Regions from separate parts of the Homo sapiens genome. Here all the other regions are linked to region 4. Evidence: promoter capture Hi-C in 16 types of primary human blood cells and fetal thymus (Javierre and others, 2016). All regions are on one chromosome and are shown on one strand. Each heading gives the region's core, a stretch centred on a gene start or on the middle of the fragment in contact. The rest is flanking DNA. Distances are from core to core; before and after follow the strand shown.

Region 1 (5,628 bases), core at 1,046-3,545, 430 kb before region 4:
TGTAAGGTAAAGGTCAACTATGCAATAATATGGCCTATATATTACCACAAATCAGAGCAAATCGACTAAAGCATATTAATATGATACTTGTATTTTGCTCACTAAGAGTCCAAACCTTAGGTTTTTATCAGCAAAGAAATGTCCAACATATAGACTAACCCTTGTGCTTTTAGATAATTTTCTTATACATATGCTTTACAAAAGCTAACTTTTCCCTTCAAACCAGTGAGAGAAGAAAGTATCACTCTCATTTTACAGGAGTAAAAAACAGGTCAGAAATATTAAAGTTCGCTTTTTAGCTTTATTTTTTATTTATTTATTTTTTTGAGATGGGTCTTACTATGTTACCCATACTGGTTTGAATTTCTGGGCTTAAGCTATCCTCCTGCCTCAGCCTCCCGAGTACCTGGGACCATAGGAGCATGCCACTGTGCCCAGCTTAAGTTAGCTTTTTTTTGAGACGGACCCTTGCTCTGTCGCCCAGGATGGAGTACAGTGGTGCAGTCTCGGCTCACTGCAACCTCCGCCTCCCAGGTTCAAACAATTCTCCTGCCTCAGCCTCCTGAGTAGCTGAGCAGGCACGCGCCATCATACCCGGCTTTTTGTATCTTTTATTTTTGTATTTTTAATAGAGACAGGATTTCACCATCTTGGCCAGGCTGGTCTTGAACTCCTGACCTCGTGATCCACCCACCTCACCCTCCCAGACTGCTAGGATAACAAGCATGAGCCACTGCTCCCAGCCCAGCTTAAATTAGCTTTCTAAGGTTTTTAAATAAGTATCAAAGATCCTCTGGACTGTCTAACTGAACTCAAGACATACCACGCTCAAAATTTCTACCACAGATAGCATGTCCTACAAAAGGTCCGGGCACATCTGGTCTGACATGTGACTAGGTATATGGCCAGGTATTGGTATGAATCTTGAGCCTGAGGACGACCCCCGACCCAATTCAGCAAGAAGTGCTCTACTGATGTCAAGTAGAACAAAGTCAACAAAAATGAAGTTTGGGATTTAAATTTTAATTTTTTAACTTTTTTTTTTTTTTTTTTTGAGATAGAGTTTCACTCTTGTTGCCCAGGCTGGAGTGCAATGGAGCAATCTTGGCTCACTGCAACCTCTGCCTCCCGGGTTCAAGCGATTCTCCTGCCTCAGCCTCTTGAGTAGCTGGGATTACAGGCATGTGCCACCACACCCAGCTAATTTTGTATTTTTAGTAGAGATGGGGTTTTCCATGTTGGTCAGGCTGGTCTCAAACTCCCGACCTCAGGTGATCCATCCGTCTTGGCCTCCCAAAGTTCTGGGATTACAGGCGTGAGCCACCGTGCCCAGCCAATTTTTTTTTTCTATAAAAAACAAAAAGCCTCTCATTAAGACTAAGTGATTTTTCTCACCTTGTTTCAGAAGGATTTTGTTTAACCAGAAATTTCTTATTTGGCATTCCCATTTCAGCAGCTCTAACACAATATAAAAATAAGGACATAATGTATTTAGAGAAGGGAAGAAAACATGCTTACAAATGTAATACAGGATGACAGAAACAAATCATCATTTAGAAGCTGGTGTACTACTGGAAGACCTGTACTAAGCATATTAAAGACTGCATTCAAGAAAGAAGAATTTTTTAAAAAAGTTATTAAGATATTTTTCCCATTAAGTCTTTATTCCCAAGAAACCTTTAGGACATCAGAAAAGGAATATATTTAGGCACTGAATATAAAGATTAACTGTTTTTAAGATTAACCAGCTATCAGTTATATGAGTTGAATGTTGTCAAATTTAGTAAATAAATTCATCTAAGATGAAATGAGATTTTAGCACCTGATTTTAATAAATTTCTTTATATAAAGGGGATTTCTATCAGCTCAACTGCAGAAAAATTAACTCTTTATTTCTAAATTTAAATATGCAAATAGACCAACAGATGACTAAAATTAATTGGTTTGATAACTAACATGACATGATACAAAAAACTTACTTCATGTATTTCTTCCTATCAAGAGACTTCTGTGTTGCAGCTGAAAGAGCCACTCGTGGACTTTTCATTTTATCCTTTAATATACAAAAGTAACGTCAAACTCTACTGGAACCAATTAATACCACTATATTATAATGTATTATAATCCCACATTGCCTGGAAAAGCTTCTCTCTACTAACATTTTTAATTTAGTTAAATCATCTTGTTTTGTATTTTTGAAGCAGTCTAATTCTAAGAATTAAATAATTAGAATTATGTAAATTTTGCTTGCTTTTCCTTTGCCAATCACACTAAGATAACTGATTCAAATCACATACTCTGATATACTTCAAATTAACTTGGAGCCTGTTTTCTAACTCAGATTTCAAAAAAAGCAAAACCCACATTATAATTGAATTCAAGGAAATTCAATCAGGAGCAGCTGATAGATTGTATAAGCCATCTGAGCAAAACATTCAAAGCTTCAACTCTAAAATCCAATAAGAAAACAATATGTAATTCTTAAATGATGTAATTCTTTTAAATCTGTCTACAGATTTAAATGCTGCTAGTAATTCCAGGAATTACTTGTGCTTAAGAATTATCAGAAGAAGGGTGCTGAAGTCAACCAAAACTGACATTTAGTATCAATTACCCTAAACCCAGAAGAACTCTATTCATTAGAAATCATATAACATACCATTTGCCTGAGCATTTTCTCTTTGCGAACTTCTCGATCATGATGTAGAATAGACATTCTTTCAGCTGCATCCATTACAAAGAATATGTCATGAATACCGTACAAGGCAGCTCGCAACTAGGCACAAGAGAAGAAAATATTGTATACATTTAAAAGATGAGGTTAGAGTTCAGGAATACTATATACCATGTACACTTATTTATAGAAAAAGATTAAAATAGTTTTCATTGAAACCTATTTTCAGTGATTAAATAAAAAAGGAGAAATATAATATGTCCATGTCTTAAAAGCCTTCAGGATCCATGTATTTACCTGAGCTAACACTCTTTCCTGAAGTGAAGCATCTTGAGCTGAAACAATGCCTCTCTTTAATGGTGCTTCTGACTGAAAACTTCTTATGAATTCCATAGTATCCTGAAAAAAGAAATGCTCCTTCAAAAACATTTTTCTAGAAAGATTTGTGATCACTGGAGTTTGCTTTTTTCTTTTTCTCAGTCAATCCAAAATTACAGTCTTTCGTCAGTATCTGTGGGGGACTGGTTCCATGAATCCCTCAGATACCAAAATCCAAGGATGCTGGAGTCCCTTATATAAAATAGTTATCTGCATATAACCTAAGCACATCTCCCATATACTTTAAATCATCTCTAGATTAGTTAAAATACCTAATAAATGTACATGCTATGTAAATAGTTGTTATATTGTTTAGGAAATAATGACAAGGAAAAAAAATTTGTACATGTTCAGTACAGACACAACCATCATTTGTTTTTTCTGAATTATTTTTGATCCATGGTTCGTTGAATCCACAGATGTGGAACCCAGAGATAGAGGACCGACTGTACTAAGAACATAAATAAAACTATTACTTATCAGAAGTCAAACCACTCACTTTCAAGCAAGTCAAAAACACACAAACTGCTTCATTTACATGTTATTCATAATATTATCTGAGAAAGATTAACGATTATTGGGGGGACCAGCCCCCAATATTTCAACATAGGTTCTTTCTATTTTTCATAAGTGTCAGCCAGATGAGAAATAAAGAGAAAGAGTACAAAGAGAGGAATTTTACTGCTGGGCGTCCGAGGGGGACATCACATATTGGTAGGACCATGATGCCCACCTGAGCCTTAAAGCCAGCAAGTTTCATTAAGGATTTCAAAAGGGGAGGGGGTGCAAGAACAGGGAGTAGGTCACAAAGATCACATGCTTCAAAGGGCAAAAAGGAGAACAAAGATCACATGCTTCTGAGGAAACAGGACAAGGGCAAAATCAGAACTACTGATAAGGGTCTATGTTCAGCTGTGCACGTATTGTCTTGATAAACATCTTAAAAGGAAACAGGGTTTGAGAGCAGAGAACTGGTCCGACCACAAATTTACCAGGGTGGAATTTCCCAATCCTAGTAAGCCTGAGGGTACTGCAGGAGACCAGGGCATATTTTAGTCCTTATCTCAACCGCATAAGACAGATACTCCCAGAGTGGCCGTTTATATACCTCCCCCCAGGGATGCATTCCTTCCCCAGGGTATTAATTATTAATATTCCTTGCTAGGAAAAGAATTTAGCAATATCTTCCCTACTTGCACGTCCGTTTATAGGCTCTCTGCAAGACGAAAAATATGGCTCTATTTTGCCCGACCTCGCAGGCAGTCAGTTATGGTTGTCTTCCCTTGTTCCCTGAAAAACGCTGTTATTCTGTTCTTTTTCAAGTTGCACTGATTTCCTATTGTTCAAACACACATGTTTTGCAATCAATTTGTAGAGTTAACACAATAGTGGTCCTGAGGTGACCTACATCCTCAGCTTATGAAGATAACAGGATTAAGAGATTAAAGACAGGCATAAGAAATTATAAAAGTATTAATTTTGGGAACTGATAAATGTCCATATTAAAATGAAATCTTCACAATTTATGTTCAGCAATTGAAGTAAAGACAGGAGTAAGAAATTATAAAAGTGTTATTTGGGAACTGATATATGTCCATATTAAAATGAAATCTTCACAATTTATATTCCTTTGCTGCGGCTCCAGCTGGTCCCTCCATTCGGGGTCCCTGACTTCCCGCAACAAACAATCAGACTTCTAAAACTGCCTAGATTACAGTGACTAAAAAGCGTTTAAGTTCTGAACTAATCTGTTAGCTCAGCTGTCACAAGACTGATAGAAACTAAGACAGAAGTGAAATACAAACGATTTACAGGAATCTTACTTTTACAGTTTGTCGAAGTTGCTTCAGCTTATCTGTCTGCATAAGTCTACGAGTAAGAAATCCTTTTGCCACTGCAGTTATTTTGTTAAATTTTGCTTGTATTTCCAGACTAAAAACCTAGGAGAAAGAAGACAGACACAATGTTTATTGGTGTTCATTTATACAGTCTAAGATAATATAGCTCTTAAGAAAAGATAAATAGATAGATGGACATGTATCATTAAGTTTACCCACTTGAGACCATCTAGTTTTGGCTCTTCCAAAAGGCCTTGTTACTGAGAGTTTGGTCAAGCCACTAGTTGATGATCCCCAGAGGTAGAATGGTGCTTCGTTTGCAGAAACAAAGCTATATTGCATGGCAGAATTTGTGAAACCTAGAGAAACATACATATAGTATTATACTTGATGTCATATAATTAGAATACGAAGAACATCCCAATAAACACTTGTGACACTCATTAAGAATAACAACTGCCTCCAAAAATGACCTACCTGCCGACTTAAAATATTTATGGACTTTAAAGCTTACATACCAGGTGGATCTTTTCAACACAAACAGCATCTCAGGATAATTGAGATATGAAGATAAGCTATTTAAAGGGACTAGGGAATTAGAGGTAATTCAAGATCACTCAGGAGAGAGCAAACTGTTTTCACTTGAAGTATATCACCTGCTGCATGAATGATCAGACTGGGCTCTAAGCCAAATTTCCTGATCTTTTCCTGGCAAAGGTAATCTTTGTTCACAAACAT
Region 2 (5,387 bases), core at 1,925-4,424, 400 kb before region 4:
CTCGTGTAATTTAAGGTTCAAATTCTCTTTTTAGATAAATTCTAATCTACCTCATCAAGCTTAACAACTTATGGGCCAACAGCCAGTGCTGCTTACATAAACAAAATGTGATATGTCCTAGAAGCAGGCGTGGTGTCTTTGTGGTAGAGGGTGGAATTAAACCAACAAAAACCTGACTCATTTATGCCAAAGTAGTGAAATATCTGACTAATCAACAACCGTAGGGTGATCATCAGAACTGCTGTACCAACAAATAGTGTAGGTAAACAGTGGAATTGTCTAAGTATTCATAAGCCATTGATGACCCATATAGTTAAACATCCAGAGAAAACATAAGTTCCTGAAGTCTCCTAGTCTTCCACTGTGAAAGTAAGAAGAGTGGGAAAATTAAAGTTTTTAAGGAATCCATCAGTTAGGAATTGAAGTAAGGTTATATACACAGAAAACAGAAACAGATCAGGATTGCTGTTTGGTGGGGGAAGTGGAAGGAAAATGAATCAAAAAGGACAGCTGTCTTAGGAGCCCTGCTGGTCTTTTGGGTGGTTAGATGCAAAATAATGTTTGTGGCCATTTGACAGTAATATTCTTGATGTTTTTGTTAAGGCAGCTAAGAATGGAGCAACAGGCGTGGAGTTGGACATTGAGTTTACTTCTGACGGGATTCCTGTCTTAATGCACGATAACACAGTAGATAGGACGACTGATGGGACTGGGCGATTGTGTGATTTGACATTTGAACAAATTAGGAAGCTGAATCCTGCAGCAAACCACAGACTCAGGTAAGTAGTTTATTGTCACTTAAACAGATCTTTTAGCTTTTATTGGAAATGACAGACACTGGTGCCTTCTAATTACATCTGCCCCAGGAGAGTTGTCTTGTTTTGTTTTGAACTGTACGTAGGTCTTGTAAGTAATGAGCAAGTGCCAGGAACAACAGAAATTTGGCATTATGTTTTTAATCTTTCCCACTGAGGCTAAATTTGGCTTCAGAATTATTGTCAAGATAATACTGTCTAGTCATAGAATCATGAGGCTGAAAGTCATTGCTTGGCAATCTTCTTGCCTTCAGGTGTACCAAGAAGCAAATTATACATTCATTAAAAGCTTCAAGTAACATTATAATATCACATTTTAACTTAACCCATTTAATTCTTCTGATCCTCATAACAAACTTCTGAGGAATCACAGAATTGTAGGAATAGAGAGTATCCTAGAAATCATCTAGAATAGCACTTTGCAGTAGAACTTTCTGCAATGATGGAAATATTTTATATCTGCACTGTGTAATATGGTAGGTACTTGTGGCTATTGAGCACTTGATATGTGGCTAGTGACACGAGGAAGTGAATTTTTAATTTAAATGTAAATTTAAACTGAAATAGCCATGTGTGGCTACCATATAGGATACTACAGATCTAGATCAATCTTGCCTTTAGATATAATCCCAGAAAAGTTAAATTATTTACTCAAGGGCAAATAACTAGTTCATAAAGAAGCCAAAACTAGAATCTATCCCAAGTTTTAGTCCAAATCATGCTGTTTTTAGCTGCCCCCAATGTCTTTCAACCCTGTAAGAGCAAAAGTTCTTTCAGTGTCTAATTTAATTCCTTCCTGGTAGAGTGTAAACGTAGCTTCCAAAGTATATACACTAGAGCTAATCTTACAAGATGTTCTGCAAAAACAGGGTTCAAGTAAGATCAAACAGTGTATTCTGAATACTTCTGTTGTGGATAAACAGTCCACATCAGCTGATTCTTACTTGTAACTTAGCTTTTCTCAAACTTACATGATCACAGAACCTACATCCTCTTCCCCACTTACAGCGGTAAACACCCTTGGAATTGGTATGCTGAGTAATATACTGTACTTTGGAATGTGGTTATTTAAATCCCTCTCTGCTTGTCATCTTTGCAGTACTGAAAAGGGTGTGCTCACTGGTTATTCATGTAATATCAATTATCCAGACAATGATCGATTCTCTTGGAAAATTAAGTATTTGACCCAACAGTTAAGTTATACTTTTTCCTAAAAGATGATCCAGACCTGTTTTCCTAGGATCTGAAAAACATTAGTCTGCCGAAGGAAGTCATACTGTAGGCAGGAAAGAATATTGGTAACACTTGAGAATTATGAGTCCAAGTTGCTAGAATTGTTCTTGAGTGTCATCAGATACTGTATTGCTCTGCTTATGCAAGGGAAAGGCTGGTTTGAATATTATAATGACATTGCAGCTAATAAAATGTCAGGTTCAAAGTTAATACTTAAAGCAAAAATGTTTAGGGTCATCATTACCCTTAAAAATCCTTTAAGGGAGCACTGAGTCCATTTCTCTGGAATTTGTGCATCCTAGGAAAAAAAATTGTGATTTTCAAAAAATCCCTTAAGAAGACAGCAAAGGCAACATATTATCTCAGTGTCTTTAACACAACCAGTCTTTGCTCCACTATTGGAACAGAGTGTGTTCTATGATTGAAAACTAAATGAAGTAATTGGCTTGTGTTTACGGATTATGTTGTGGGAAAAAATAGATATTTTCTCTAGAATTATGCTCAGTGTGATGAGATGCTTGTCCTGAGAGGAGGATAAGGAGGAAACTAAGATCAGCCAAAGGAATAACAAATTCAGGTCTCCCATCTTTCACTCTCAGGGAATAGAAATTGATTAGAATGGCTGGGATAATTGCCTGTAATGTTTAAATTATCCTTATCTTTTTTTTTTTTTTTTTTGAGTTGGAGTTTCACTCTTGTTGCCCAGTTTGGAGTGCAATGGCATGATCTTGGCTCACTGCAACCTCCACCTCCCGGGTTCAAGTGATTCTCCTGCCTCAGCCTCCAGAATGCTGGGATTACAGGCACATGCCACCACACCCAGCTAATTTTTGCATTTTTAGTAGAAACGGGGTTTCGCCATGTTGGCCAGGCTGGTCTCGAACTCCTGACCTCAGGTGATCTGCCTGCCTCAGCTTCCCAAAGTGCTGAATTTACAGGCATGAGCCCACTGTACCTGGCCTATCCTTACCCTTTTTTAAAAGCATGATCTTACAGTTGAAATAATGCAGTTGAATTAGCATTAAGTTAAATAATAATTTTATTATGAGAGAAAAGCTAATTTCTTTTGTATCAAGCACTTAGTTTTCATTTTCTTTATCAGAAAATTATGTCTTAGAACATTATTTATTTTAAACAGTTGCACTTAAATAAATACACAATACAGTTAACAGATTTATGTATTCCTAAGAATTCCTCCTGCATAGCATTCTATTAGGGAAATTACAATCTGAAAATTAAGTCTTTGAGTTTTCCAAAGGTGGCATATACTCTGCCCTTTGGGAAGTAGGGTTATTAATAATGTTATTAATTCAATAGAAATTCAGTGATTTCTTAAAAATTAAATGATTTTTGTTGTTGTTGCTGGTCTTTGGTCAAGAATATCTGTATTTGAACACATGGAGGTTCCTGAATGATGGAGCACTCAGAAAGGGCATGGAAGCTCTATGCCCCTTTCCCCATACCTCACCCTATGCATGTCTTCATCTGTATGCTGTGTAACATACTTTATAATAAACCTGTAAACGTGTTTGAGTTCCGCAAGCCACTCTAACAAATTAATTGAACCCAAGGAGGAGGAGGTGGGAACCCCAATTTATAGCTAGTGTCAGAAGCACAGAATTACCAGAAAAGGAAAACAAATCAAAACAAAACAAAACAAAAAACAGAAAAATAACATCCATTATACAATATAAGAAACCAAAGACCATCAATCTCTAATCTCTGTGCTCAGGTGTCTGTGTGCTTCAATTCTTCTCATCTACGAGTCTTGGGTTTTCAATGCTCACTTGTCACCAGGATATGAATTAAAAATGTCTTGGGCACCACCATGTGGTCCAGTTGTCTTAACCTTTCTAAAAGTGCTTGTGCAAACCATTTACTTGTTGCTTCTTACACAATTACAGCCCAACCTACTTGTGTTTAAAAGCAACCACAGCATGTTTGAAAGTCTTATGCAATAAAAGGGAAGTTTATGATTACATTTAGTCTGTACTTACTGGATACTTTCAGTTTTATCAGTTCCAAGTACAGCAAACTCTGGATAATATGGTTAATTACTTCCTCCATGATTCTTTCGACCTTCATATCAATTTTGCTAAATATGGAATGATTGACTAGCCAGAGCAATCAGGAAAGAGAAAGAAATAAAAGGCATCCAAATTGGAAAAAGAGGAAGTCAGATTGTACCTCTTTGCTGACAACATGATTTTGTATGTAGAAAAACCTAAAGACTTCACCAAAAAACTGTTAAAACTGATAAACAAATTTAGTAAAATTGCAGGATATAAAATCAACGTACAAAAATCAGTAGCATGTCTATACGTAAATAATGAACTAGCTGTAAAAGAAATCAAGAAAGTAATCCCATTTACATAGCTACCAAAAAAAAAATAACAAAATACCTAGGAATAAATATAACCAAAGAGGTGAAAGAGCTCTTACAAGGAAAACTACAAAACACTGATGAGAAAACTTAAGAGGACACAAATGGAAAGACATCCCATGCTCATGGATCAGAAGAATTAATATTCCTAAAGTGACCATTCTACTCAAAATAATTTACAATTCAGTGCAATCCCTATCAAAATATCAAAGACATTCTTCAGAGAAATAGAAAAGCAACAATCCTAAAATTCATATGGAACCGTAAAGAAGCCCAAATAGCTAAAGCAATACTGAACAAAAAGGACAAAGCTGGACATATCACACTACCTCATTTCAAGATATACTACAAAGCCACAGTAACCAAAACAGCATGGTATTGGTATAAATACTGACACACACACACACACACACACACACACACACACACACACAAAACAGATACATAGACCAGTGGAATACAATAGAGAACCAAGAAATAAATCCATATATTTACAGCCAACTGATTTTCCATGAAGGCACCAAGAACATTACAGTGGGGGAAAGGAACTCTCTTCAATAACTGGTACTGGGTAAACTGGATATCCATATGCAGGATAATGAAACTAGACCCCTATCTCTCACTATATTTAAAAAATCAACACAAAATGGATTAAAAGTTTAAATTTAAGACCAGAAACTATAAAACTACTAGAAGAAAACACAGGGGAAAAGCTCTGGGACATTGATCTAGGCAAAGATTTTATGGCTAAGACCTCAAAAGCACAGGCAACAAAAACAGGCAAATGTGACTATATTAAACTAAAAAGCTTCTGCACAGCAAAGGAAATAATCAACAGAGTAAAAAGAAAACCTGTTGAATAGGAGAAAATATTTGCAAACTATTCAACAGACAAGTAACTAATATCCAGAATATACAAGGAACTTAACAGCAAAAACAATAATAATCCCATTAAA
Region 3 (5,296 bases), core at 2,484-4,983, 260 kb before region 4:
ACATAAATTTATGATGTAGCCACTCTGGAAAACAGTACAGAGGGTCTTCAAAAAATTACCATATGCCCCAGCAATCCTCCTTCTGGGTATATACCTAAAATATTTGAAAAAGCATCTGTGCAGATATCTGTACTCCCATGTTCATTGCAGCATTATTCACAATAACCAGAAGTAGAAGCACCTAAATATCTATCAGCGGATGAGTGGATAAACAAAATGTGGTATATACACATAATGGAATATTATTCAGCCTTAAAAAAGGAAATCTTATCATATGCTGCAACATGGATGAACTTTGAGGAAATATGCTAAATGAAATAAACCAGTCACAGAAGGACAAATACTGCATGACTCCATTTATATGAGGTATCCAAATTAATCAACCTTTTTTTTTTTTTTTTTTTTAGATAGGGTCTCACGCTGTTGCCAGGCTGGAGTGCAGTGGTGTCGTCATAGCTCACTCCTGGGCTCAGTGGGCTCAAGTGATCCTTCTGCCTCAGCCTCCAGAGTAGTTGGGACTACAGGCACACAGCACTGCACCCAGCTAATTTTTTAATTTTTGTAGAGATGGGAGCTCACTATGTTGCCCAGGCTGGTATCAAATTCCTGGGCTCAAGTGATGCTCTTCTCTTGGCCTCCCAAAGCATTGGGATTACAAACATGAGCCACCATGCCTGGCTGTCAAACTCTTATAAACAGAAAGTAAAACAATGATTATCAGGAGGCGTGAAGGAGAGGAAAACAGGGCATTGTTGTGGATATAGTCTCGTTTTTGCAAGATGAAAAACTTCTAGAGGCTCATTGCAGAACAATGTGCCTATAGTTAACACAACTGTTCTGTACACTTAAAAAGAGTTAAGATGGTATTTTTTTTTACCAGAATAAAAAAACCTCACAAATGTATTATCTTATATATCTATAGGTCAGAAGTGCAAAATTTGTCTCACTGGACTAGAATCAAGGTGTGCAAAGGGTTGCATTTCTTTCTGGATGTTACAAGGGAGATTCCCTTTCCTGCTTATTTGAGTTGTGGGCAGAATTCTGCCCTTTGCAGCTATAGGGATGGAGCCCTGGTTTTCCGTCCGGCCATCAGCCAAGGGCTGTTGTCATCTTCTAGAAACTTCCACATACTGTGTTCCCCTCCTCCATATTCTGAGCCAGCAGTGACTGGAGGCGTCTTTTGCTTATAGCATTTCTCTGACCCACTTTTCTGCCTCTCCTTTCTATTGATAAGGACTTGTGTTATTAGATTTGGTCCAATTGGGTAATCTAGGATAATCTCCCACTTTGAGATCCATAATTTTTTTTGAGACAGGGTCTCGCTCTGTTGCCCAGGCTGGAGTGCAGTGGCACGATCTCAGCTCTCTGCAACCTCTGCTTCCCTGGTTCAAGCAATTCTTGTGCCTCAGCTCCTGAGAAGCTGGGATTACAGGCACCCACCACGACACCCAGCTAGTTTTTGTATTTTTAGTAGAGATAGGGTTTCACCATGTTGGCCAGGCTGGTCTTGAACTCCTGGCCTCAAGTGATCTGCCCACCTCGGCCTCCCAAAATGCTGGTATTACAGGTGTGAGCATTGCACCTGGCCTGAGATCCATAACTTAATCAAATGGGCAAAGTCTCTTTTGCCATGTAAGGTAACATATTCTTAGAAATTTGGGAGAATTAGAACGTGTCCATCTTTGGGATGTGTAGTTCTACCACACCTCCTCCCACCCTCACCTGATCATTTTCATTCAGCTCCACATGATGACAGGAGAGAGGATTCAATCTGGCAAAAGATGCGAATATTGACTTTCATATGTGTATAAGGACTCACATTTATTGAGTATTTATTATGTGCCAGACACATTTTAAGCACGTCACAGGCCTCATCTTATATAATTCTCCTAGAAGTAAATGTTATTATTTTGTAACCAAGTAATATGGTTTGGCTGTGTCCCCACCCAAATCTCATTTTGAATTGTAACTCTCACAATTCCCACATGTCGTGGGAAGAACCTGGTGGGAGGTAATTGAATCACGGGGGGCGAGTCTTTCCCATGCTGTTCTCACCATAGTGAATAAGTCTCACAAGATCTAATGGTTTTAAACGGCAGTTTCCCTGCACAAGCTCTCTCTTTTTGCCTGCTGCCATCCATGTAAGACGTGACTTGTTCCTCCTTGCGTCACACCATGATGGTGAGGCCTCCCCAGCTGCGTGGAACTGTAAGTTCATTAAACCCTTTTTCCTGTATAAATTACCCAGTCTCAGGTATGTCTTTATTTGCACCATGAAAACAGACTAATACACCAAGGAAACTGAAGCTTAGAGTGGTTAATAAATCTCTTTAATGTCACACTGCTACTATTAATAGATTTGTTGTAAACTTGGGATTTATATTCATACAGTCTCATCCTTAATCAATTAGCTATGCTGTCTCTTTAATAAATATAATAATATCGATGACAAAATGTTATTAGAAGGTTGCACTTGTATATTAAAAAAACTCAGTAAGCAGTAATTTCAAGAAATTGGAGATAGCTAGGGATGATGGCTCATGACTGCGATTCCCAGCACTTTGGGAGGCTAAGGCCAGAGGATCACTTGAAGCCAGAAGTTTGAGGCCAGCTTGAGCAACATAGCTGTCTCTACAACAACTACAACAAAAGTTAGCTGGGCATAGTAATGCATGCCTATAGTCCTAGCTAGCCGTGAGGCTGAGGTAGCAGGATTGCTTGAGCCCAGGAGGTTGAGGCTTCGGTAAGCCGAGATCATGCCACTGCACTCCAGCCTGGGCAACAGAGCAAGATTCTGTCTCTAAAAAAATAAAAAATTGCAGAATTAAACATATTTCCATATTTATTTACAGTCAAATACATTGTAACTCAAAGAGAAAGTGGTTATATGTTGAAGGGCACAAAGCAATTTGACGTCCTAGATAGAAACTTAGTGTCTTCAGACTAGAAGGGTCTTGAAATGGTAATTTTTTTCTCTCTTTGCATTTGGGTAGGACCTCATATAACCCAACCTAGTGAGAAAATCTGGCTTTGGGGAAAGTGGTGTGTTTTGGTGACAGGAACATAGTTTCAACTTGGTTTTCCTTTTTAGAATTATTTTTACTTGTTTTAGAAATAGTGATGGGGTCTCACTATGTTGCCCAGGCTGGTCTTGAACTCCTGAGCTGTAGGGATCCTCCTGCCTTGGCCTCCCAAAGCGTTGGGATTACAGATGTGAGCCACTGCACCCGGCTTCACCTTAGTTTTCTAATTACACATGAAAGGAGTTGTTCTTTTCATTTTCTCTTGTATTCACAAGACTGTGCTGAAGCAGCCAGCTGCCCTTATTGCAGCCTGAATCCTGATTTTTACCCTGTGTCCAGCCCTCCCTGTGTGACTGCAGGGCAAATTCTGATTGGTCTCAGCCTGTTATGGTGGTGCCTGGGCTTAGCAAGGGGTGTTAGGTTCTGGTCAATGAGGCAGAGTCTACTGGGCAGCTTCTGGAAATGTTTTTTTAGTCTTAAAAAAGAGACACACAAAGAAGAAACAGCTCCTGCTCTCCATCCCTGCCTGACCACAGTGTTTGGAAGTGCCCATATCAGGTCAATCAGAGGAGGAGACCCCAAAAATGGCCAAGTATGAAGATGGAAGGGCTTGACTTGGTTAAGCCACTCAACCAATTGGCCCTGGATTCTCTCTGCTGCCTGAATTCTTTTTTTTTTTTTTTTTTTTTTTTTTTTCTAAATTTTAGACAAGGTCTCACTCTGTCACCCAGGCTGGAGTGCAGTGGTGTGATCTCAGCTCACTGCAGCCTTGAACTCCTGGGCTGAAGCAATCCTCCCACCTCAGACTCTCAAGTAGCTGGGACCACAGGCATGTGCCAGCACACCTGGCTAATTTTTGTATTTTTTTGTAGAGATGGGGTCTTGCCATGTTGCCCAGGCTGGTCTCGAGCTCCAGAGTTCAAGCAATCCACCCGCCTCAGCTTCCCAAAGTGCTGGGATTACAGGCATGAGCCACTGAGCCAGACCTTTCCTTTCCTTTTCTTTTTCTTCTCTTCTTCTTCTTTTTTTTTTTTCTTGAGATGGAGTCTCACTCTGTTGCCGAGGCTGGAGTGTGGTGATGTAATCTTGGCTCACTGCAACCTCCGCCTCCTGGATTCAAGTGATTCTCCTGCCTCAGCTTTCCAAGTAGCTGGGATTACAGGTATGCACCACCACACCTGGCTAATTTTTTTGTATTTTTCATAGAGACGAGGTTTTACCATGTTGGCTGGGAGTTCAGACCTCCCAAAGTGCTAGGATTATTACAGGCGTGAGCCACTGAGCCCACAACCTTTCCTTTTCTTTTTTGAGACAGGGTCTCACTACATTCCCCTGGCTGGTCTCAAACTCCTGGGCTCAAATGATCCAATCCTCCTGACTCAGTCTCCTGAGTAGCTGGGATTTCAGGTGCGCACCACTGCAGCTGGCTCTGGATTCTTACACTTAGGCCATTTTTGGCTGGAGTTTCTCTTATTAATACTTGCAGATGGCAGCACCCCAACTGAATCACACAACACTAGTTTCTCTCTGTTTTATTCATGGGTTATACTTTGTCTCAAAACCAGAAATGGCATTAAGTCCTCAGTTTTCTGTAATGTCCTTTTTCTGATCCTGGATCCCATCCAGAAACATGACATTGTACTTAGTCCTAATATCTCCTTAGGCTCCTCTTCATGGTGACAGTCGCTCAGACTTCCCTTGTTCTTGGCCTTTTTGACAGTTTTGAGGAGTGCTGGACGGTTATTTTGTAGAATGTTCCTGAATTTGGTTTTGTCTTATGTCTTTATTATCATTAGGCAGAGGTTATGGGGTTTTGGGAGGAAGACCTCAGAGGTAAAGTGCCTCTCTCATCGCATGTCGAGGGTGCCTACCATCAACGTGACGGGTCACTGTTAATGTGGACCTTCATCACCTGGCTGAGGCTGGGCTTACCAGGTTTCTCCACTGTACGCTCACTCTGCCTCCACCCCTTTCCATACTGCATGCACTCTTTGGAAGGAAGACACCGTGTGCTGCCTACACTTAAGGAATGAGGCATTATGTTCCCCCAACTCTTGAGGACAAAGTGTCTGCATGAATTATTTGGAATATTCTTCCACATGGGTGATTCGCCTTCTGCCATGATTGGAAGCTTCCCGAGGCTCTCACCAGGAGCAGATGCCAGTGCCATGCTTCCTGTACAGCCTGCAGAACCATGAGCTAGTTTTCCTTATTTGTTTATGAAATCATTTATTTAAACCGAGCTTGGTGGCTCATGCCTCTAATCCCAGCAC
Region 4 (5,687 bases), core at 796-3,295:
AGGTAGCGGGGACCCCCGTAGGCCCGGAGAAGCTGGGGCAGCCTTTGCCACGTGGACAGCAACCGCGCTGCTGCAAGTTCCCGGGCGTGCCCGTCGAAAGCGGCCAGGAGGTCAACTGGGGCGGCTTCCCTCAGTGCCTTGGGCAGGGGACCCACCTCGGCAGCCGCCCCACCAGGGCCCAGGACGCAGTGGAAGAGCGTATGGCGTCGCAGCAGGCAGTCCCTAAGGAACTGCACCAACTCCTCCAAACACCTTCCCAGGTGCTCCTCGTCCCAGCCTTGCCCAGGGGCCCCCTTGCGCAGCAGCACTGCCAGCAGCACTGTCTTGAGCACATATGAGGATAGGATGCGTCCCCACTGGGTGGCGGCCGCTGAGTCCAGCCCACGGGCCCCCAGATCGCGCAGAGCCTTAAGCAACTGCAGGCACTTGAGGTAGCAGGCACCTGGAGCTGCCCGTTCCTGCAGCCAACTCAGCAGCTTCTGCTCCTGGCGTGCTGTGTTCACACCCCACAGTGCCTCCGCACGCAGGCCCTCAGGGAGCTCCAACAGGGGCGCGCTGGGCAAGGGTGGCGGTGGTGGCGCCACAAGGAAGACCCCATCTCCCAGATGGACAGCGGGGATGAGACGCACAGCCATAGAAAGGCGGCAGCAGCCGTAGTCAGTGCGGCAGGGCAAGATGTGTAAGGTGGGGGGCTGTTCCAGGCCACCTGGGGTCAAGGTGACCCGACAGCGCCCCTCCAGGCTGTAACGCACAGTGGCCAAGGAGCGCTGCAGATGCGACTGGAACCAGCGCAGCACCAGAGTAGCAGAGAGGTGACGCCGCCCGCGCACATCCACGCAGAAGGCATCAGCAAAGGGTTTGCAGTCCCGAAGCCAGTGGCCCCCCGAGGCCCCCGATGGTGAGGGTGGTGCCTTGAGGGCGCACAAGAAGCAGCCGCGGAAGGCCGGGGCCAGCGCTGGCTCCTCGCCCAGGCTCCGTGGCTCCAGCGCCACAAGCGGCGGGAGGCGCAGTGGCACCAGCACGTCGAAGCTGTCGGGCCGGCGGATTTTATGTTGCTCGTAGGCGCTGCCCACCTGGATGAAGTCTCCGCGGAAGGCCAAGGCCAGCGCTCCCCCAGGAATGAGACCGGGGGACCCCCGGGCGCGGCCAGCCCGCACCAGCTCGCCCACGATCCGGCTCACGTGCGCCTTGCTGTGGCCCAACACGTGCGGAGACAGGCGCACCTCATGCTCGTAGTAACTCTCCAGCAGGATGCTGAGGCCCGGCTCTCGGAAGTGTCTCGAGGAGAAGGCGGCGTGACCCTCCAGACGGGGAGACCCGGGCAGGAAGCGCTGCCGGACAGCGTGGCGACAGCGCAGGAGGACATAGCTGAGGAGGAGCAGGACGGCCACCTTAAGCAACGGGAAGCCGCCATCCACGCCGTCGGCGGGCTCGGCCCGGGCGCCCCCGCTTCCCCGCAGGACATGGTAGAGGCACACCAGGGCGGTGCACAGGCCGGTCACCAGGGGCCAGAAGACGCGTAGATTGAGGGTGTAGTGCACCGACATGCCGGGCGCCCGGGGCGGCGGTGGCCGAGCAGCCCAGGGGGCAAGCCCCGGCGGCGACCCAAGCCCAGCATGCGCACAGCGCCCGGGCAGCCCCGCTGTCCCCGTCTCCTCCTCCGCGGCGGCTTCCCGAACGCAGGCCCGAGGGAGGCCGCCCTCCAGCTCGGCCTCCTCTCCCAGCTCAAGTGTTCCTTCCAGCTGCGGCCCGCCCTGCGCTCTCGGGCCCCGGGCCGCGCCCTGCCCCGGCTGCGCGCTGAGTCCGGCCCAGCGGCCCTCCCCGCCCGGCGCCCCCGCGCGCCGCCGTCGGCCAGCTTCTGGCCCGGCCTGGCTCGCCTCCTACCCTGGGCGGCCCTCCTGGCTCTCCCGCCGCTCCTCTCCGCGCCTGACCCTGTTACTCGGACCCCGGGAGTTTCCTCTTCCGAGGGGGAGGCGAGGCCGCGCCAGCTAGCGGGGAGGAAATGCCGGAGTCTGGAGCCGAGCGTGGAGCTGGCGAGCCGGGTCGGCCCCCTCCCGGGCCTCCGCCTTAAAGCGACGCGGGGCGGCGGGAGGGACTTCAGGACGCTCTTGGAACTGGCCTCCCGCGGCCCACCCCCATCCTCCCTCCCCGAAGGCAGAATTGGGAAGGCCCTGATTCCGGGGCGGTAGCTTCGTCCAGGGAGCCTCTGGAGTTGCGCTCCCTTGAAGTTATACTGGGACGTTGAAAAGGAGAAAAGGGCGCACAGCCAGACTGTCCAGTCCTCCCCACCCCCACCGCACAAGCTGCGGTGGCGTGGCAGGCCCTGGCACAGGAGTGGCCCTTGCCGTCTGCCGCAGTCGTCTGTTCAAACCAGTATTCACCGAGCACCTACCATGTGCCAGGTCGGAGCCACAGTGCTGGGGAAATCATAGTTGACAAGATGGACAAGGTTTCTGTCCTTCGTGAAGCTTACAGCCTTGTAAAAATGGGAATCAAAAAAGGAAGGGGCTGGGCGCAGTGTCTCACGCCTGTAATCCCAGCACTTTGAGAGGCCGAAGTGGGCGGATCATTTAAGGTCAGTAGTTCGAGACTAGCCTGGCCAACATGGTGAGACCCCCCCCCCCGCCCCCCATCTCTACTAAAAATACAAAAATTAGCCAGGCGTAGTGGCACGCGCCTGTAATCCCAGCTGTTCGGGAGGTTCAGGCAGGAGAATCGCTTGAATCCGGGAGGCGGAGGCTGCCGTGAGCCGAGATCGCGCCACTGTACTCCAGCCTGGGTGACAGAGTGAGACTCCGTCTCAAAAAAAAAAAAAAAAAAAAAAAAAGTGGGGGGAAGGATTCCACAGCAAGAAAACGCTCTAAAATAAACAAAAGTGCCCGAGGGAGTGAGAAGGTGCTGGCTACCCTGTGGAAACCAGAGGATGACAGGGGTGACATTTGGCCTGAGACTTCATCGGAACATGCTGGTTCACCCCTGTAATCCCAGCACTTTGGGAAGCCGAGGCGGCGAGAAGATCGCTTGAGTGAGGCCAGGAATTCGAGGCTGCAGTGAGCTATGATAGCATCATTGCACTCCAGCCTGAGTGACAGAGCAAGACTCTTGTCTCTGAAAAAATAAAATAAATAAAATGAAATGAAATTAAAATAAAATTATTTTCCCAGTGGAGGAAAGGGGCACAAACAGGTTCAGCTCAGGCAGGTTCAGCTGCCCCCCTTCCCCCCTCCCCCACAAGGTTACACAGCCTTTGTAGAGCTGGGCAGAAACCAAGGGGTGGAACTCCCAGGAGGGGGCCCAGGGAAGGTCTCTTCCTCATCTGCTGGGAATTTTGGGGGTCCTTTGTCTGGGTCTACATTGGAACCTCAGTCCTAGGAAGCTTGTTTTGTTTCATAACAGGGAGCACTTCCTGAAATAATCTGATCTATTTAAATAATTGTCTTTCTTTATTCACACTCATTACACCTTCTTTGCTGGCACTGACCTTTAAAGAGAGCAAGGGTGAATATATTAAAACATGTTAGAACCCAGCTGCCACCTGGGAACCAGGACTCAAAAGATGGCTTCTGGGTTGTTCCCAGTAAATCCTAAATTGGGCCCCTGAGAGCTAAGCAGATCTGCCTTCAGATCCCATCTACTAATATTAGCTATGAGATCATCATCTACCAGTCAAGATTCTTAGGTTTGCAAGTGACAGAAACACAGCTCCAACTGGCTTAAGTGCACGCACGCATAGACACACACACACACACACATTATTGTATCATGTTAACTGAGATCCATGAGGGGATTTCAGGTACAGCTGAATCTAGGTGCCTCAATGCTATGCAGACCTGTTCTCCCTTCACTTCTTAGCTCTCTGCTTTTTAAGTGGGCTGTCCTCCCCACAGGTCCTCCATATGCCCTTGGCTGCTGTAGTCTCACATTGTCTTCAGTGCAGAAGAAAAGAGAGCCTTTCCTGTTTTTGTTTGTTTGTTTGTTTGTTGTTTGTTTGTTTTAAAGACAGAGTCTCACTCTGTTGCCCAGGCTGGAGTGCAGTGGCACGATCTCAGCTCACTGCAACCTCCACCTCCTGGGTTCAAGTGATTCTCATGCCTCAGCCTCCTGAGTAGCTGGGATTACAGGCATGCGCCACCACGCCTGGCTAATTTTTGTATTTTTAGTAGAGATGGGGTTTCACCATGTTGTCCAGGCTGGTCTTGAACTCCTGACCTCAGGTGATCTGCCCACCTCAGCCTCCCAAAGTGCTGGGATTACAGGCGTGAGCCACCGCGCCTGGCCAGAGAGGCTTGCTTTTCTCAAAGTTGTGGTAAATGCCATGACTTGGGATAGTTTTGGGTCATATGCTAAAGTCACCAAGCAAGGGAATGCACTGATTAGCATTGCCCAGGTAGTGCCCCCACCAACTCCAATCCAAATCTATGTTGAAACCTTAACGGCCAATGTGACTGTATTTGGAGATAGGGCTTTTCGGCAGTAATTTAGGTTAAATGAGGTCAGAAAGATAGGGTCCTAATCTGATAGGATTGGTGACCTTATAAGAGGAAGAAAGAGAGACGGCTCTCTCTCCATGTGGTTGGACCAAAGAAAGACCATCTGCAAGCCTGGAGAAAAGCCCTCACCAGAAGCGGAATGCTACCAGACCTTGATTTTGGACTTTCTAACCTCCAGAGCTATGAGAAAATAAATTTCTGTTGTTGGAGCCACCCAATCTATGGTATTTGTAGAGGCAGCCTGAGCTGACTAATACAGTTGGGTACCCAGCCCTGGAACCAAGAGGTGGAGTCAGCCCTGTTCAAACTGTGGGAACTGTGGGAAGGGGTGTCTCTCCCCCAAGGAAAGTCATGTTGCTGCGGCTGGAAAAAGATGGATGAGATGTTTTGACATGCAGAGATGACAGCTGGCCACCTCTTTTGGATAACTCTCTTAACCTATCTTTGCTTCTATCTCCCGATCTATAAAATGGAGTGCTACCAACAGAGTGGTTTATTTTTCCCCTGGCAGATATAGTGGTATGCTATCTCCAACTATACAAATAATGGCAATGCTCTAGGTCAGAGTTAGCAAACACTATTTTTTTTTTTTTTAAAGAAATAGGTCTTGCTCTGTTGCCTAGCCTGGAGCACAGTAGCACAATCACAGCTCACTGCAGCCTTGAGTTTCTGGGTTCAAGGGATCCTCCTGCCTCAGCCTTCCAAGTAGTTGGAATTACAGGCATGCACCACCACACCTAGCTAATTTTTAAATTTTTTGTAGACATGGGGTCTCACTATGTTGCCCAGGCTGGTCTTGAACTCCTGGCCTCAAGCGATCCTCCTGCCTTGGCTTCCCAAAGTGCTGGGATTACAGGCATGAGCCACCGTGCCTGGCCTGGCTCACACTTTTTGTAAAGGGCCACAGAGTAAATATTTTAGGCTTGGGTGTCATAAAATCTCTACTATAACTACTCAGGTCCACTGCTGTAGCCCCAAATAGCTGGGTTTGGGGCTGTTGCTTGGCAAACTTCGGCTTGCATTAGGTTGGTGCAAAAATAATTGCGGTTTTTGCCATGACTTTTGTTACTAATAGCTGCATTCCTCTACCTCTGTCTTTTTTTTTTTTTTTTTTTTTTTTTTTTTGAGACGTAGTTTTGCTCATGTTGCCCAGGCTGGAGTGCAATGGCATGATCTCGGCTCACCGCAAGCTCCGCC

The links. The method cuts DNA at HindIII sites, captures the fragments that hold promoters and counts their contacts. A CHiCAGO score of 5 or more calls a contact.
Region 1: a fragment that was not itself captured here is called in contact with the fragment with the promoter of ITPRIPL2 in region 4 in 1 of 17 cell types (M0 macrophages); the score reaches 5.5 in M0 macrophages.
Region 2: a contact is called between a fragment that was not itself captured here and the fragment with the promoter of ITPRIPL2 in region 4, in 3 of 17 cell types (monocytes, M1 macrophages and M0 macrophages). The highest score is 7.5, in monocytes.
Region 3: a contact is called between a fragment that was not itself captured here and the fragment with the promoter of ITPRIPL2 in region 4, in 5 of 17 cell types (M1 macrophages, endothelial precursors, monocytes and 2 more). The highest score is 7.9, in M1 macrophages.

The regions. Positions count from the first base shown.
Region 1 is chr16:19,542,242-19,547,869 of GRCh38, reverse strand. CCP110 (centriolar coiled-coil protein 110) reads right to left here. Exons shown (of 14, transcript NM_001323572.2): 7 at 5,110-5,249; 8 at 4,876-4,992; 9 at 2,972-3,073; 10 at 2,660-2,776; 11 at 1,980-2,053; 12 at 1,396-1,458. Among named protein-coding and RNA genes, the nearest start is that of VPS35L, 11 kb to the left of the region's middle. The HindIII fragment of the contact is 297 bases long and covers 2,147-2,443 here.
Region 2 is chr16:19,512,406-19,517,792 of GRCh38, reverse strand. GDE1 (glycerophosphodiester phosphodiesterase 1) reads left to right here. Exons shown (of 6, transcript NM_016641.4): 2 at 604-779. Among named protein-coding and RNA genes, the nearest start is that of GDE1, 7.0 kb to the left of the region's middle. The HindIII fragment of the contact is 4,135 bases long and covers 1,107-5,241 here.
Region 3 is chr16:19,369,564-19,374,859 of GRCh38, reverse strand. All of the region lies in intron 1 of LOC105371114 (a long non-coding RNA gene), which reads left to right. Among named protein-coding and RNA genes, the nearest start is that of LINC02858, 38 kb to the right of the region's middle. The HindIII fragment of the contact is 2,847 bases long and covers 2,310-5,156 here.
Region 4 is chr16:19,110,322-19,116,008 of GRCh38, reverse strand. ITPRIPL2 (ITPRIP like 2) reads right to left here and starts at 2,045. Exons shown (of 1, transcript NM_001034841.4): 1 at 1-2,045. The coding sequence starts at 1,547. RefSeq lists silencers at 1,484-1,853, 1,944-2,043. The HindIII fragment of the contact is 2,659 bases long and covers 1-2,470 here.